Linked DNA regions of Homo sapiens: region 2 is linked to region 1. The links are contacts of gene promoters, found by promoter capture Hi-C in human tissues and cell types (Jung and others, 2019). All regions are on one chromosome and are shown on one strand. The core of a region is centred on a gene start or on the middle of the fragment in contact, and the rest is flanking DNA. Distances in the headings are between cores, read along the strand shown. Region 1 holds the start of LGR6 (leucine rich repeat containing G protein-coupled receptor 6). Region 2 overlaps PPP1R12B (protein phosphatase 1 regulatory subunit 12B).

Evidence for each region. Contacts are between HindIII fragments. The study calls those that stand out against the background at their distance.
Region 2: a contact is called between a fragment that was not itself captured here and the fragment with the promoter of LGR6 in region 1, in 3 of the 25 tissues and cell types used here (IMR-90 fibroblasts, aorta and heart right ventricle).

What each region holds. Positions count from the first base shown.
Region 1 is chr1:202,192,503-202,195,367 of GRCh38, forward strand. It overlaps LGR6 (leucine rich repeat containing G protein-coupled receptor 6), which reads left to right and starts at 1,297. Exons shown (of 18, transcript NM_001017403.2): 1 at 1,297-1,699. The coding sequence starts at 1,488. RefSeq lists enhancers at 1-686, 381-430. The HindIII fragment of the contact is 27,919 bases long and covers 1-2,865 here.
Region 2 is chr1:202,438,210-202,441,011 of GRCh38, forward strand. It overlaps PPP1R12B (protein phosphatase 1 regulatory subunit 12B), which reads left to right. Exons shown (of 24, transcript NM_002481.4): 11 at 2,497-2,579. It also overlaps the pseudogene LOC100420423. Among named protein-coding and RNA genes, the nearest start is that of PPP1R12B, 91 kb to the left of the region's middle. The HindIII fragment of the contact is 5,580 bases long and covers 1-2,802 here.

The DNA.
Region 1 (2,865 bases), core at 47-2,546:
GAGAGCGGAGGCTCGTCTTCTACTTTCAGCGCCATGGCACCAACTGGAGGCCTAGGGTCAAGGTCTGCTCATTTCTTGGTCCAGCTATGCAGCCCCTCTAGCCCTGGGAGGTTATTGGGAGAGTGGAGAGGTGTTGATGAGAGGATCCTGGCATGTGGAAAGACAGGGTGGAAGAAATCCTGGATGCCTCTGAGGTCCCAGGTTTCTAGTATACCCTCTGGCTGGACCATGGGGAGATAGGGCAAAAAAAGGAAGGAGGGGGGCCCACAGCCTGCTCTAGCTCTGCGCGGGGGCTTGGCTCAGCATGGGAGAGACCAGAGAGAGCAAGAGGCTGCATGAAGGAAGCACAGCCAGCTCACTATGGTCTAAGGAGAGAACAGGGATTGACCTCAGTTTTAACCACCATGCCCTTTGCTCTCCAGGGCTCTGGGGCCGGCCCAGGTCAGCCACTTGGTGGGATTCCAGCCTCAGGGTGGCTGAGCTGCAGGTGCAGCACCCGGCCTCCAGGTGGCACCAATCCGCTTACTTTGAGGTGGGCTCTGACAACCAGCTGAGCTGCCCACAGTCCCTCAGACTCCCGAGGTCCTGGGAGCAGGGATCAAGGTGGTCCCCAGGCCGTAAACCTGACAGAGGCTGCAGGAGTGCATTTCCACCCAGGGTGCACTCAGCGGGTGTAACTCCACACCCGTTTCTTTGGAGTCAAGGCCCGGCCTCTCAGTGAGGAGACTGCTCCTGGTTGCCCACCGTCGGGTCATCCCAGCCTGCAGTGGAACCCTCCGCAGCCTGGCCTCTTCCAGGGTAGCCCCTCACTCCCCTCTCTCCTGTCCTAGCAGACAGGCCAGGGAGGGTGGACGAGTTCCAGCTCTGGGGATGTCCCATCAGCTGTGTCACCTTGAACAAATCATTTTGCCTCTTGGGTCTCAGTTTCCTGCAGTGTGAAACGTGGTGGAGGCATGAGGGGCAATGGGAGCCCCAAGGCCTCTTTCAGAGACCTCCTCTGGGTCCCATGTGACCTCGTGGCTGTCCCCAAAGGCAAGAGGGTCCCCAGCCCTGCGGCCAAGGCCCTGGGACACCCTATCCAAACAAATGCAGGTCTCTGACGGGCTGAGCTTTGCTCGCTTGGGTTTCTTTGCTTTCTTCCTTTTTTTTTTTTCTTTCCTGGATGAAATTCCTGCCAGCTCCGAAGGAAGGAGGGAAGAGGAGCGAGCCGCAGTGTAGAAAGTTTCCTTGACTCCTCCTCCGGCTGGGTCTCCCTCCCTTGCCAAGCCCAGCCTGTGAAACTGAATAACGAAGATCACTCAACAATGCCTGCCCCTCTCTGACTGCACCGTCCCGGCGCTCCCACCGCCGCCGCCGCCGCCCAATAGAGCCCCTGGGGCGGTCCCCACCGACGGTGCAGCCCGCCGGGACCGGGAGGAAGCAGCTGCGGCCATCGCGCCGTGCGTCCGCGCCCGGCCGCCAGGTGCCCCAGTAGCCCGACCGCCGAGATGCCCAGCCCGCCGGGGCTCCGGGCGCTATGGCTTTGCGCCGCGCTGTGCGCTTCCCGGAGGGCCGGCGGCGCCCCCCAGCCCGGCCCGGGGCCCACCGCCTGCCCGGCCCCCTGCCACTGCCAGGAGGACGGCATCATGCTGTCTGCCGACTGCTCTGAGCTCGGGCTGTCCGCCGTTCCGGGGGACCTGGACCCCCTGACGGCTTACCTGTGAGTACTGCCCGCCTGTCCCCGCCTGGTCCTGCGGGCTGCTGGCTAGCGCCCAGTCCCGGCCTCAGCAGGGCACCTGCTTGCTTGGTGCCCTGGGGCATGGGCATCCCGGAGAGGGTTTGCCCCCTTCCAAGTTGACCGTTGCGGGACTGGGGAGGGGAGAAGAGTCTGAGACTAAATACCAGGCGAGCAGGGAGACCGGGCTTCCCTGACTTGGCTTCCCCATTGGCCTCCGTGCTTGTGGGCTGACTATGGGAGCCCAGGCTTGGCGAGGTGGGTTCTGGACCCTGAGCGGGAGGGCGCGGGGCTGGCTGCTCCATCTCCTGTTGCTGCATTCTCTTCTAGCAGAGCAGTGCCCGGGATGGTGGCTGAGGGTAAAGCTGACAGAACTGGAGGTGGAGGTGAGGGGAGCGTGCCCCAGTAGGGTGGAAATAATGTCTGTTCTTCTGCCATGGTGAGGACAACAGGGCTGTCACACTGAGGCTGGGTGGCCTTCGTGGGGGCGGGGGGGGCGGGTTTCCTAGAAGCTGGGAGGGGGGCCTTATCCACTCTTGTCTCCTCAGAAAGGGACTCTGCCAGCACCATCTCCCTTCACTGGGGCCTCCTGGCTCCCCCAGGGGCCTCCCTAAAGTCATGTCCCAAGAGGCTGTGTTGGAGACACTAATTTGTGGGCAGGCGCCGAGGCTGAAAACCAGAGAACCATTTTTAGCGTCTGAGTTGGGGTGAGATGGCGCGTGAAGGGGACCCTACTGGGGGCAGCTGTCCTGTCTGTCTGGCTCATGGGAGCTTCCCCTCAGAGCTGGAGGGCTGGGGGCTCTGGCTGCTCACCACCTGGGCAGGAGGAGGGTGAGAGAGCACATTCCAGGCCACCCACCTGCACCCCCAGCCCCGCTCTGGGGCAAGGAAACCTCCTCCAGCCCAGCTCTGCAGGCTCTATCAACTTCCTCAGAGGAGCTGGGAGCAGGTGGGAAAGCCTGGTGGGGCCTTCTGCTGAGGGCTAGGATCCCAGAGTTCCTTCTGGCCTGAGAGAGGCTCCTTATGGCTTTGGGGTTCCAGCACATGGGAGCTTAGAGGAAGAGGAGGCTGGGTGAATCTTTATAGGGGCCTAGCAAGAATTTGTGGAACTAAAGATGCTCAGTGTTGGGAGTGTCCTGGTGGGAGGTAGA
Region 2 (2,802 bases), core at 29-2,528, 250 kb after region 1:
ACCAAAAAAGAAAATAAAAAAGCTTTAAAAATAGCTTTTCCTTTTGGTTTGTTCAATCTTCCTTGCCCCCTTACCTAAAGCAAAAAATGGATCAGCAACATAAAAATTTCAGTATGGCGGAGGGGGGCACAGGACCCCAGGTAGGGGTCCTGGATCCAGAGGGCCAATTCCCGTCCCCCCAGCGGCATGGCTTCGTGTGCTGAACCCTCTAAGCCCTCTGCCCCCGCCTCCTGCCAGGGTCCCACCGCTTGAGGACTTCAAGGTGCTGGATGGGGTGGAGGATGCAGAGGGCGAGGAGGAAGATGACCTGAAAGAGCTGCCCCCGCTGGGCATGGGACAGCCCCCGGTGGAAGAGGCTGAACAGCCTGGGACATTGGCCCTAGAGTTCCTCGCTGCCATGGAGCCTGAGCCCGCCCCGTCCCTGGCCCCGGAAGCAGCTGTTGAGGAAGAAGACGCTTGTCCCAGGGCCGCCGGGTTCAAGCCGCCCAGTCAAGGGCCAGGTGGTTACCGTGCATTTTGCAGACGTCGTGAGAGAACAGCATGTGGGAGCTGGTGTTCACCTTGAACAACTGTGACGTCATCCAGGCCCTGGATCTTAGTGTCTAACTCACGGACGTGGGGGAGACGGCCATGGTCACTGCTGACTCCATCTACTGCTATAGCCCCCAGGGCAGGAGCCCATACATCCACCGCACGCGGCCCTGTGCCTGGAGGTGACCCCGAAGACGGCCGTGGACTGGCCTGACCTGGAGATGCTCACAGGGCAGGAGCGCATGGCCCTGGCCAACCGGAAGCAGGAGTGCGGCAGTGCCCACTACCAGTGGGCGGACTTCATCCTGGCCGCCAACTCCTATGACCTTGCCATCAAGACCATCACCTCCAGCGCCAAAGTGGACATGACGTTCGAGGAGGAGGAGCAGCTCCTGTAGTTGAAGGTGAAGTGTCTGAACAACCTGGCGGCCTCGCAGCTGAAGCTCGACCACTACTGCGCAGCCCTGTGCTCCTGCAGCCTCGTTGGAGCACCATCCAGACAATATCAAGGCTGTCCTCCACAGAGGCAAGATACTGGCCCAGCAGGGTGAGTACAGTGAGGCCATCTCCATCCTGAGGGCAGCCCTGAAGCTGGAACCTTCCAACAAGACGATCCACGCAGAACTCTTGAAGCTGGTGAAGAAGCACGCGGCACAGCGGAGCACGGAGACCGCCCTGTACTGGAAAATGCTGGGCGACCCCAGCTGGCTGCCCGCCAAGTGCCCCGGCAAGGGTGCCTGGTCCAGCCCATGGAAGTGGCTGTTTGGGGCGACTGCTGTTGCCTTGGGGGGTGTGGCGCTCTCTGTGGTCACTCCTGCCAGGAACTGACCACCCAGGTGGCCGCCACCCCCTCTGTACACCATGGACCCTGCCCTGTGCTCCATAACTCCCCCAGGCTCCCTGTCCACTGCCCTTCCTGGTCCGGCCCCCTTCTCCAAGTTGGAGGCAGCAAGGACTGGGGGTTGTGCAGCCCAGCCAGCAGGAGGGACTGAGGCCCTCTAGGAGGAATGCGCAGAGTGAGGGGGACCTCATTCCTTCAGACCCACTTTCCTCCCCACTCCCCTTCTCCTGCTGGGCTAGGTCTCCACTGGGGCCAGCCTCAGTTTCTCCTCAACAGGTTTGGGGACAGCCCCTCCTGCCCTGCTTGCCCCACACTGTCTAGGCTCACTTCCTGCCACAGTGTAATAAAGCCTCCTACCCTGCAAAAAAAAAAAAAAATTCAGTATGGCCTAAGAGGTTCTCTGGGCTTTGAGTCCAAATTAAGCTCAGGCAAATTAGTACTTAGAAAAAAAAAATTTTTAACTTGTCATTCTTTCATTAATATGGAAAATGTGGTTAGGCTAACTTCACACATAGTTTGTGTATTCATTCAAGATTAGTAAATTTTTATTTTCTTCACTTTTTAGTTCCAGATTTTATAGGACTCTCTTTGTGCTTTTCTCTGGGGTCACATCTTCCTTGTAATCACAGTCCTCTTGCTTTATATCTCTGGAGACTACTGAAAGAGATGAGGCATATTGGTTGAATTAACTCTGCAGCATACTATTGTACATATTCCTAAGGAAGCTGTATTTCAAGGAAAAGATGTACTGGGGACTATTGGGGACTACATAAATCTTATTTCATCAAGAATATTAGAGTGGAGCTTTCTGTTTGTGTCTTCAAAGGCTTTCCTCCTCTCTTGACAGAGGTGCTGCTTTGCATAATTTGTGCTGCTGTTTTCTTTATTTACTCATCCTGACTTTCCCATGAGAATTATTTCCCTTCATACTGTTTTTTAATGGAAGAAAGTTAGGAATAAGCTTTTGAAAGCTAACCTTTTGTAAATACCACTCAAAATAGAATTAGTGTTGGATCCAGAAATAAGATGATATAGGTATATTAAGTTCTGCTTTTTTACTCAAAATGTTTTATGCTGTGCCAGTATTGTACCTTTCTTGTGCTTTACTTGTTTTTATTTTACAGGAGAGAGAAAACAAAAGCTATATTAGTTCACTAGCACCCCGGAAGCTCAACAGCACAAGTGATATTGAAGAAAAGGAGAACAGGTAATCCTAAAACCAGCCAAAAGATGGTCCTCATCCTCTTAGGTCTACTGGACATAGTCATCTCCTGGGCATTACTCTTCTGCATTTTTCCCTCAGGTGTCCTTACCACATTATGAATTGTTTATTCCTTCTGCTTAGAACACCTCTCAACTCTTATATCCTTGCTTTGCTGGTTCTTTATTTTTCAAATTCTAACTCCAGGTTAGACATTACCTTCTTTAGG